3 separate regions of the Homo sapiens genome follow, and all the other regions are linked to region 2. Evidence: promoter capture Hi-C in 16 types of primary human blood cells and fetal thymus (Javierre and others, 2016). All regions are on one chromosome and are shown on one strand. The core of a region is centred on a gene start or on the middle of the fragment in contact, and the rest is flanking DNA. Distances in the headings are between cores, read along the strand shown.

Region 1 (3,513 bases), core at 845-3,344, 2.3 Mb after region 2:
AGAGGATAGAAGGCTTGTAAGAAACTTACAAGACCATCTCCTACTCGTCTCTTTATCTGCACCATTAGGCTATCATGAGACAGTTTCTCATCACCTCTCAGGTTCTGAAGAGGTATAAGGTTTTCTGCCCTACTCCCCTTAAAACACACCGCAGAATATAAAACTACTGAGCTATATGGTCTAGAATTGGCTTCTCAGCAATTAGGCATCCCACAAGTCACATTAGAGTCATCTATCTCCTATTGTTTCTGTGCCATTCTTTCTGGTGTATGAGACAAGGCCCACAGGAAGCTGGCACCTGTAGGTGCTTCCTTTCTCTATCCAAATTAAATAATGAACTGCCTGAATCTAAAAGTGGTTCACTGTATCTTTACAAACTAAATCAGTCAGGGATGCCTTGGCCCTTCCTCATCTTGTGTGTATACTTCACAACAGGTACAATGACTACTCATTAAGCTACTTTAGCATATTCTCAAGTATATATGCAATATTTCAAAGAGTAAAATCAAACTGTTGAATACTAATGTTTTATTACAGCCAAAATACTTTAGTGATCATTCTCTCAATTCATAGTGTTACAACACAAACCACTGTATCATAAAAAGAGTTTGAAAGTGACATTTTCCCATGAAGTAGTATTATAGCAGAGAAGCAAACATTCACTCTGATAGAAGGGAAATAATATTTAAAAAGTGGGAAAAAAGCTTTATTTCAACAAACTTGCATGCTTTACTTATAACTTCAGTAAACCATAAAATGAATTCGTATTTTTCTTAGTAAGTCCTTTTGGAAAATAAAAGACTGAAATACATATCCAGAATTGAAAAAATATCTATCATCCTAAATTTTATTGTACTTACTGTGTAATATACAACACCCTAAGCTTTCCCAACACATACATCATTAAAATATTTTGTCAGAAGAAAGTGAAAGAATACGAACAGAAGGATTTAGACGCAGAAGAGGTAAGAATTCTACAAAACACCTAAAATTAAATTTTAAACTACAGTAAAATTTCTTATTGTAGCAAATATTTCAACTCCCCAAAAATGAAATCTATAGCCTTGGCTATAATTTGTAGATCCGTTTTGTACTGTGTCTTTTTGTAAGAAAACAAAAACTCAAAGGGTGCCATATCCAAATTTCAAATAAGACCAAAAAACTATTATACTTTAAACCGATATCTTGCTTACAACAAAACGACATTTTGAGTAATTTTATAGCTTTTCTTTGCATCTCCTTAAAACTACCTGTTAACATTAATGTCTGTATAGATTAAAATTGTTTAAAAGGACTTTATATTGAAATTTTTTGTGTCGCCATTATCTGAAGTCACTTGAACTCATTTAAAAGGTATGCTCAGACCAGGCGCGATGGCTCATGCCTGTAATGTCAGTGCTTTGGGAGGCAGAGGCAGATGATCACCTGGGGTCAGGAGACCAGCCTGTGCAACATGGCGAAACACGGTCTCTATAAAAAGTACAAAAAAAATTAACCAGGCATGGTGGGGTGCGCCTATACTTCCAGCTACTTGGGGAGCTATGGCGGGAGGATGCCAGGATGCCTTGAGCCCAGGAAGGGAGGCTGCAGTGAGCCGAGATCACACCACTGCACTCCAATCTGGGTGACAAAGTGAGACCCTGCCTCAAAAACAAACAAAAAAAAACGAAGAAAACAACAACAATAAAAAATAACCAGCTGGGCACAGTGGCTCACACCTGTAATCCCAGCACTTTGGGAGGCCAAGGCAGGAGGATCACAAGGTCAAAAGATCGAGACCATCCTGGCCAACATCGTGAAACACTGTCTCTACTAAAAACACAAAAATTAGTTGGGCATGGTGGTACACGTCTGTAGTCCCAGCTACTCGGGAGGCTGAGGCGGGAGAATCCGGGAGGCAGAAGTTGCAGAGAGCAGAGATCTCGCCACTGCACTCCAGCCTGGCGACAGAGCAAGACTGCATCTCAAAAAAAAAAAAAAAAAAAAAAAAACCACCAAAAACAAACACATAGACCAGATGCGGTGGCTCACGCCTGTAATCCCAGCACTCTGGGGGACCGAGGCAGGTGGATCACCTGAGGTCAGGAGTTCGAGACCAGCCTGGCCAACACAGCGAAACGCCGTCTCTATTACAAATACAAAAATTAGCTGGGCGTGGTGGCACGTGCCTGTAATCCCAGCTACTCGGGAAGCTAAGGCAGGAGAAATGCTTGAACCCAGGAGGTGGAGGTTGCACTGAGCTGAGATCACCCCACTGCTCTCCAGCCTGCGTAACAGAGCGAGACTCTGTCATTAAAAAAAAAAAAAAATACAGAAGTAAAAGGTATGTTCAGTATATCAGTATATATTATCTTCTATGCTCTAATGTCTCTTAATACAATAACTAACAATTAACTGCACTGTATAAAAGAGATAAACATTTTTGGTATAACTAAGTTCTGTTTAAACTTTTTTTTTTTTTTGAGACAAAGAGTCTCACTCTGTTGCCCAGGCTAGAGTGCAGTGGCGCAATCACGGCTCACTGCAGCCTCAATCTCCTGGGCTCAAGCAATCCCCTCACCTCAACCTCCTGAGTAGCTGGGACTACAGGGATGCACCACACCAGGTTAATTTATATATTTATTTTTATTTTTTGTAGAGATAGGATCTCACTGTGTTGCCCAGCCTGGTCTCAAACTCCTGGGCTCAAGTGATCCTCCTGCCTCAGCCTCCCAAAGTGCTGGGATTACAGGCATAAGCTACCATGCCTGGCCCTGTTTAAACCTTTTGATATCAAAATATAAAGTACACCCTGGGCATGGTATCTCACAACTGTAATCCTAGCACTTTGGGAGGCTAAGGCAAGAGGATCACTTGAGGTAAGGAGTTGAAGACCCACCTAGGCAACAAAGTGAGACCCTTTTTCTACAAAATGTTTCTTAACAAATTAGCTGGACATGGTGGCACATGCCTGTAATCTCGGCTACTTGCAAGGCTGAGGTGGGAGGATCATTTGAACCCAGGAGTTCAGGGCTGCAGTGAGCTATGATCACACCACAGCACTCCAGCCAGGACAAGAGTGAGACACTGTCTCTAAAAATAAATTGAATGTTTTTCTTATATATACACATATATTCATATACATATAAGTAATATATGTGTGTAAATTAGAACTAGTCCCATTCACTAGTCGTAAGAGCCATAGACCTTTTATCTAATTCTCAATACCCCCCACTACCACTACATGCCAGACTCACTGAAAAAAAAAAAAGGATGGTGACAGTAACTATCCCCTAGTTCCTCAATTAAAAGTAAGATTAAGCTTGAAAAAGAAAAAAAAAAGAGTCAGCCAAATAAAACAGGCACAGGCTCAAGAAAGAAAACATTAAGGGAGAATTTGCCACCCTACATAACCACATATTTTGAAATTGTGTCAGATTTTTCTGAAGTATTTTATAGTGGCCGGGCATAGTGGCTCATGCCTGTAATCCCAGCTACTCAGGAGGCTGAGACAGGAGGATTGCTTGAGCCCAG
Region 2 (3,725 bases), core at 551-3,050:
TTTGCTAAGGTCAACACTTGATTAGACAGAGGAACAGCAAGTGTGAAGGCCCTGTCTGGCAGGATGGTAAATCTATTCAATCTCTACCAGTGTTTATTAACTGGGGGTGATATTGCCCTCAAGAAACATTTGGAAATAGGAGGAGGTAGGTATTTTGGGTTTTCACATTGATATTAAATAAGATAGGTGAGGGGTGGGATGGACATACTAATCTACAATGCCCAGGAGAAGTTCAAACAAAGAATTGAAAGAATTGGTCTGCCCATAAAATATCCATTACATTTTTGCTGGGAATTACAGCATTTTTGGTTTCACTTTTAAATTGCTCTCATTACATTATCAAATGTCAATGAATAAAAGACTGTATAAATTATTTATGATGCAATCATGTAACAAACAGGATGGTATGTTGTGTAAATTTAGCTTATCTTAATTCAACTATATACTTCCAATCTCATTTTCTCCAATATGCTGATTCATCAAATTTCATATGTGATATAAGCTAGGTCTCAATTTAAGAATTCAGGTGACACTTATTCCACAACAGACTCTTCTGCCTTGTACAGCATACAAACATCTTGGATGGGAATTGGCATACATTAGCCATCAAATCAATCAGAGAAACCTTTCCCCATTCTAATGTGGTAATAGTCCCCATTTCCCACTTTCTCTGACTGACAGTCATCTCAGGTTTTAAAACCAGCTCAAAAGATATCTTTTCCATGAGGCTTTTCCTAACTTCCCCAGTTGTTCACTACTCAGTACCGCCATAGCAACCTGGTCTCTTCTCCACAAGCACGCTTATCAGACATACAGGCTTTTGTTTACCTGTCTGTCTCACAAACTAAACTATAAGCTTTTCCGGGAAAACAACTACCTTACCCATCCATCTTTGTATCTCCGGCGCCTAGTACAGTGCCCAGTGCCTCGCAGGCGTTCAATTAATGATTGTAGAAGAAATGGAGAATGAATGACCTTAGTTAAGCAAAGAATATATCAAACTCAAAAATGTCTGTTTAAAAACCTAAGACCCCAGAAATCGGCTGCATGAGTTGGGTTAAAGCATTAAATAGGACCGGAATGCTGGTAGGTAGAGAAATCTCCACTTGACTTCTTCAAGTACATCCTGAAAAGTACCAACATCAGTGTTTCGATGCAACATTGTCCACATGCAGGAGTAAAGACAACACTTCTCGTGGTCTCTTCCTACCACGAGATCCTGAAACCCACTCCCCACCCCAAATCCGGGAAATCTCACTTTGGGGATCCCAGGACCCCAAGTTCCCTAGATGAGGCTCTCACCTTCCCATTCGTGGGAGGCTCCTGGATGTAGATGTTGCTCATCTTGGTCAGTACAAAGGACTCTGCTCCTTACGGGGGATGAGAGCGGCCGGCCGGCCACTAAAGCTGTCCGCCTACGAGTACACTCTTCCTTAAGTCCAGTGGTGCAGGAAAGCTTCAGTTTGTCAATATCACGCAAGACAGGGACACCAAACACTACCCCTGCCCAAAGGAGCCCCTCACGGACGCCGCCATGTTGTTACCGGACCCGAGCACCGCTAACCCTGAGAAGGGTTATTCCAATGTACTCCAGGGAACGAGAAAAGTCCGTAAAGTTACCATAGCTTAATGTTATTTATGTTATTTGTATTACAATATTAGAAGGGACACTTCATAAGTGTTGGCGGTGTTTACACTACTCTCGTGTGCAGATCAAACTAACTCCCCCTCCAAAACTATCAGTAATGGTTCGGACCATGTGTCTTCTGCAATATGACTCGTCCGGAAACTGCATCCGCATCTACTGGTTCTGCCGTCGCTAGAGGCGTACAGGCCCTTCCCGACCGTAGCGAGGGTGCTGCTGCGCTGGGGGAAGGAAAACGCCGCTTTGACTGTGCCTTGTTCTCACAGCTGGCGGGAAGCAAGCGCCTTTTCGAAAGCCAGAGGCTCGAGTTACCCCTCTTACCACCGTCATGGCAGTCCCAGGTAAGGAGCAATTACAGGGCCTCTGCGTCCGAGCTCCGAAGGGAGCGCAAGGGAGGGTAGGGTAGGGTGCGGCGTGTACGGAGCAGCGCCCATGGGGATTTAGGCGGAGGCCTTAAAATTCACAGGTTTGTTTTGTTTACATGAAAAAGTTTACACTCCAAACATAAACTCTGAAGGAAAGAAAATAACTATCTTCCCCCCAGGAGCCAAGCCCCAGCTGCTTGGGATTACAGGGAAAGTGTATTGTGGAAGGGAGGGAGGAGGGAGAGACTGTAACTGTAGGCCTAAGGGGGCAAGCGGCCGAGAAAAACTACCTTAACTGTGGTATGGCTTAAAACTAAAACTTGAAGTGGGAACACTTGGCCGACCCAGGTAACCGGAGGCATCGTTTGTCTTAGAAGTCGCTAGGACCCACCGGGTGTGCGGGTTCTACTCCTAGCTCTTCCTGTTGTATGTAGCTGCTCCGTGGCCATAGATTGGTCGCTTTGTGCTTCTGGGCCTCAGTTTCCTTATAAAAAGAAGGAGCTTTGTTGAATTATATATAAGATTTCTTCTAACTCTCAAATTCTATGTCCAGAAGTTACTGACCTAAAAACGGTGAACTCTGCAGAATAATTACTTAAAAGATTTTCTCGTCCTCAACTACCAGCTTACTTGGAAGTTCTAGTAGCGGAAAGCATCTCCTCAAACCAGCTTTGCCACTGCAGAACACTGATTGCAGGAGACATTTTCAGAAATACACACTTCTCCACCCCACCTCCCAACTTGGAAATTCCCAGCGCACTTTAGTAATAGAAAAGATTCTATTCTATTAGAATAGAATACTATGAATTGCTATAGAATTACTATGAACTATAGAATTACTATGGTTCAGAACCCTAACTTTGTTTAAACCTGCACTTCCCAGTATTATTTGACCAGGTTCTTTATTCTGTGGCAGCCTTTTTGAACCTCCTTCTACAGATAGCTGTTATTGGAACACTGTGCTTTTGTACTAACTGAAGTTTGCGGAGGAGTACATCTGGAGCTGTGAGAGAGGAAATGTACACTCTTTATTAAGCCTACTGTGTGCCAGGCACTGGTACTGGGCATTGGAAATACAGTGGTGAGCAAGGTAGACATGGTTACGCTTCACACAGAACTTAGAATTTAGCAGTGAAGAGAGAGAAATTTACAGAAAGTGGGACAAGTGCCATGGCAAGGAAAATACAAGACCTTAGCACAAAGTAAGGGCACCAAACACATACAGGATGGGCAGAAGGACTTTCCAAAGGAGGTAGCACTTAGGAGGAGATCTGAATTGTAGGAGGGGTGGCTTGAAGGGAGAGGAGACTGCAGTCGGAGGAACTGGATACGTAAAGGAAGAGGAAATATGTGAAAAGAGGAAATGAAAGATGTTTTCTATGGATGGAACTCAAATACAGATGGGAGATAAGTGAGAAATTAAGTACAGAGGTAGTAGCTGTAGCTAATATTGACTAATATTTATGTGTCAAATATGTCAGAATGAAAGATGTTTTCTGTGGATAGAACTCAAATACAAATGGGAGGTAAGTGAGAAATTAAGTAGATAGTAACTGTAGCTAATATTGACTAATATTTATAAGTCAAATATGTCAGATACTATATCAAACATTGTATTCTATCTCATTTAATATTCACAACTGCACTGTGAAATGAGTATTAATATTCCCATTTTACAGATGAGGACACTGAGGGACAAAGAAATCAAGTAATTT
Region 3 (3,665 bases), core at 98-2,597, 2.5 Mb after region 2:
GGTACCGAAAGAAAATAATTTTACTTATCTCCCTCCGTGCATTTATTCCTTTACAATATGAATTATTTCCAGTCTGGCTGGCGTATCTCACTCCACACCCCAAGCTAGTGTCATAAACCATTTTCCCCAAGAGAAACCTAGAGAAAGATACATAAGCCTAAGGCTCTTAAAAAAAAAAATGAAGCATGTGTCTTCACCTCGCCTTACACTTTTCTCAGTTACCTCTCCCGAGGGTGTGAAAATATCAACATCCGGTCGCCCACCCCCACTCTCTCAGCAGTGCCTCGCATTGACTCTGCCCATCCCCTATCATTCCCTTTACAGTCTCATCACCTTGGAGAAGCCCATCGAATATTTCTTCCCATTGCTCCCCCACCCTTATTCATGGCTCAGCGCGATATTCTCCACATTTTTCTCCCAAGAAGTGGCAAAAAAGAAAGCAGCATGGTCGACGACGAAACCGGGGAGGCCTGACAACCAGACGGCAGTTTAAGGCGACGGAACTGGCTCTTTCCCCCCATCTCGGCCTCCGACCAGCAGTCGGTTCTCTAAATGTGAAATCGCTGGTCTTCCCGCTCCCCCACCCCCATCCCCATCCCCGTCAGAGGCCAAGCCGGTAAAATGCAAAGACCAAGGGGAAGCGCGAGGCAGGGTCATCCCTAACGAAGCCCGCTCCCTCCCGGGCTGGTGTCCCCGGGGGGGGGCTGGAGATTGCGGGAGGAGGAGCGAGCGGCCCTCGCCCAGAGACCCCCGGAGACGCGACCCTCGACACCCGGGCCCTTTCCCCACCCGGCTTCCCTCCCCCGCGGCCCGATCCGGAGAACTGCAGCAGCGCCCGGGCGGACCCCAAGCCGGCCTCACTGGCACACACGCCACACACAAAAGCGCCGCGGCCGCCGCCTTCCCACCCCCACAGCCCGGCGAAGCAATCAATGAGGCGGCCGGCGCCCGCGTCCCCTCCGTGCACACCCGAACACGGGGCCGAGCGGGCCAGCGGGGCTGGCAGCGCGGCTCACCATCGCTGCGCTTGATCTCCACGTAAATCCCGATCTGGATCTTGCCGAAGTTGGCCGTTGCCATCACCTCATCTGGAGCAGCAGCAGCGGGCCGAGGGAGGGGGACCGGAGGGCGGAAAAGGCGGGGAGGGGGCGGGGTAGGTGTGGGAGGGGGAGCGGTTGCCCGCGGCCGCGCCGGCCCGGGCGACAGCGTGAACGCAAGCGGGGCCGCAAGGAGCAGCTGTGGGGAAGCAGGCGGAGGCCCCGGGCCTGCAGGCCGGCAGGAGGACGCGCACGCCGGGTAGTCGGGGTGAAGCTAGGGCCGGGGCCGTGAGACGGCGCGGGGTAGAGTGGGAGGGCCCGCACCGCCCGCCGGGGAGCCGACGCTGGGGAGGCGGGGCGCCGCGCGCCTGCGCAGAGCGCGCCTCCGGCGTCTCTTCTTCCTTTTCGGCTGGCCTCTCCCCGCTGCCTCCAGGCGGCCCCGCCCAGCTCTGCAGCGGGGTGGGCGGCGGCCGCGGCTTACCCAGCCGCTGGAGCGTTGAGCGCTCGGCCCGGCCCACAGCTAGCCGGCGTCGCGTTTGATTTCAGCGCGCGGCCTAGAAGACGCGGGAAGCGTCGCGCCGAGCTTTCTTGCCCTCTCGCTTCCGGGAATTGGCGCTGTTGCCGGAATGGGTTAAAGGCCACGTGGTTTCAGGGGCTTTCTAGCGGGCTGAGGGATGTGAATTCAAGGGCCCTCCGTTGACAGTACGGGATCCGGGTTTTCATCGGAAGGTGGCACCCCCTATTTCCACTTACAGGTAGCTGACCCAAGCAGCCCTCCCAAGCACACTTGGTGTAGGTTTCCCATCCAGTTACGCTGGAAGGGAAGAAACACCCTTGAGGTGTCACCTACCCTAAATCGAAATGAAGATCCACCCCTTTACAGTCTTGCCTTATAGTTTATCACACTCAGAAAGAAGCTCTGTGGTGGGGCGTCCTTAACTGTTCAGGTTATGAGGCATCCGATGCTGGTGCCCTGTTTCTGCTGAGGGTTCAAGACTTACTTGCCTTGGCCTGTAAAGCCAACAACTGTGACTCAAGGGAAGAAGGCAGACACATAAGGTTGACTAGGGAATGTGTCTTTTTGCAATAATTTAATTAGTCTGACCACATCAGCAATGTGGAAAGCAAGACTCTCCATCCTGGCAGAGCAGGAAGGCCACGTGTACCGGGGCCCTGGAAACTGTATTTATAGCACCGTGTGAAAACCTCCAAACGTCTAACTCCTGCTTGTAGTACTGGCAATTGATAGGTTGGAAACAACACTTTTCATGGCCTACTTTCCCTAGTCATTGTTTTTTGTTGTTGTTGTTTTGTTTTGTTTGTTTTTGAGGGGGAGTCTTGCTCTGTCGCTCAGGCTGGAGTGCAGTGGCGCGATCTCCGCTCACTGCAATCTCTGCCTCCTGTGTTCAAGCGATTCTCACGCCTCAGCCTTCCGAGTAGGTGGGATTACAGGCCCGCGCCACCACGCCTGGCTAATTTTTGTATTTTTAGTAGAGACGGGGTTTCACCATGTTGGCCAGGCTGGTCTCAAACTCCTGACCTCAGGTAATCCACCCGCCTCCACCACCCAGAGTGCTGAGATTACAGGCATGAGCCACTGCGCCCGGCCTTCCCTAGTCATTGATAATCTCCCTGTAACAATAACTACAAATATACAATTTAAAATTTTAAAATTGGAAACTGGATATATACATCAATGCTTATGTGGATATATGTGTGCCTAGAGTTTTCTATCTAATGTAAGTAATCATGTAGGTCCTTAAAAAACTGTTAAAAGACTGGCTTCATCTGTAGCTTGAACATATTGAAGGTATACCTGTCAAAAGAACAATTCTATTGAATCCATTCTAAAGTGCATATAATTTCTATGGAAAAAAAACCACACTGGATAGACAATGTGGAAAATAACTTCTTTTACATTCCAGAAATGACACACTTGAGTACCCCGGTTTCAAGTGAAATTTGACCAAATCAGGGTTTAGTTTTTATTTTTTCTATAATTTTGGGAGTTTTATCTGAACTCTTCAAGCTCCTGTCTAGAATTCATTTTCTGATGTCTCTGCAACTGAGGTATAAAACATCTATTTATATTTTATTTATACTTTATAAAGAATGCAAAGAAATCAAGCTATACAGCTCAAAGTTAACATTGTTTCATAAAATATTATTATTATTATTATTAGAGACGAAGTCTAACTCTGTCGTGCCTAGGCTAGAGTGCAGTGGCATGATCTCAGCTCACTGCCACCTCCACCTCCCAGGTTCAAGTTATTCTCCTGCCTCAGCCTCCCAAGTAGTTGGGACTACAGGCGTGTGCCACTACGCCCAGCTAATTTTTTGTATTTTTAAAATAGAGACGAGGTTTCACCGTGTTAGCCAGGATGGTCTCGATCTCCTGACCTCATGATCCTCCCGCCTCAGCCTCCCAAAGTGTTGAGATTACGTGAGCCAACACGTCCAGCCAATAAAATATTATTTTGTATCGTGGTTGCTGACACATACCTTACACTCTGTGGTTTATATGGTTAATCTTAACCTTTAATCCATATAAAAGGTATTTTTAAAATATGTACATTGTTTTGCTCCATAAAAATGTATGACATAACACTTAACAAACACAAAACCTTT

Evidence for each region. The method cuts DNA at HindIII sites, captures the fragments that hold promoters and counts their contacts. A CHiCAGO score of 5 or more calls a contact.
Region 1: a contact is called between a fragment that was not itself captured here and the fragment with the promoter of SREK1IP1 in region 2, in 3 of 17 cell types (naive CD4 T cells, naive B cells and total B cells). The highest score is 6.2, in naive CD4 T cells.
Region 3: a contact is called between the fragment with the promoter of KIF2A here and the fragment with the promoter of SREK1IP1 in region 2, in 5 of 17 cell types (naive CD8 T cells, non-activated CD4 T cells, total CD4 T cells and 2 more). The highest score is 7.8, in naive CD8 T cells.

The regions. Positions count from the first base shown.
Region 1 is chr5:62,462,622-62,466,134 of GRCh38, reverse strand. All of the region lies in intron 5 of IPO11 (importin 11), which reads right to left. Among named protein-coding and RNA genes, the nearest start is that of IPO11, 52 kb to the right of the region's middle. The HindIII fragment of the contact is 2,418 bases long and covers 886-3,303 here.
Region 2 is chr5:64,766,766-64,770,490 of GRCh38, reverse strand. SREK1IP1 (SREK1 interacting protein 1) reads left to right here and starts at 1,800. Exons shown (of 5, transcript NM_173829.4): 1 at 1,800-1,986. The coding sequence starts at 1,974. CWC27 (CWC27 spliceosome associated cyclophilin) reads right to left here and starts at 1,561. Exons shown (of 14, transcript NM_005869.4): 1 at 1,303-1,561. The coding sequence starts at 1,344. LOC124900985 (a long non-coding RNA gene) reads left to right here and starts at 1,995. Exons shown (of 4, transcript XR_007058787.1): 1 at 1,995-3,536. RefSeq lists enhancers at 1,065-1,789, 1,508-1,827, 1,978-2,067, 1,219-2,418, 1,790-2,516 and a silencer at 1,755-2,049. The HindIII fragment of the contact is 4,415 bases long and covers 1,459-3,725 here.
Region 3 is chr5:62,303,888-62,307,552 of GRCh38, reverse strand. It overlaps KIF2A (kinesin family member 2A), which reads right to left and starts at 1,347. Exons shown (of 21, transcript NM_001098511.3): 1 at 1,017-1,347. The coding sequence starts at 1,080. RefSeq lists a silencer at 614-1,643. The HindIII fragment of the contact is 9,341 bases long and covers 1-3,665 here.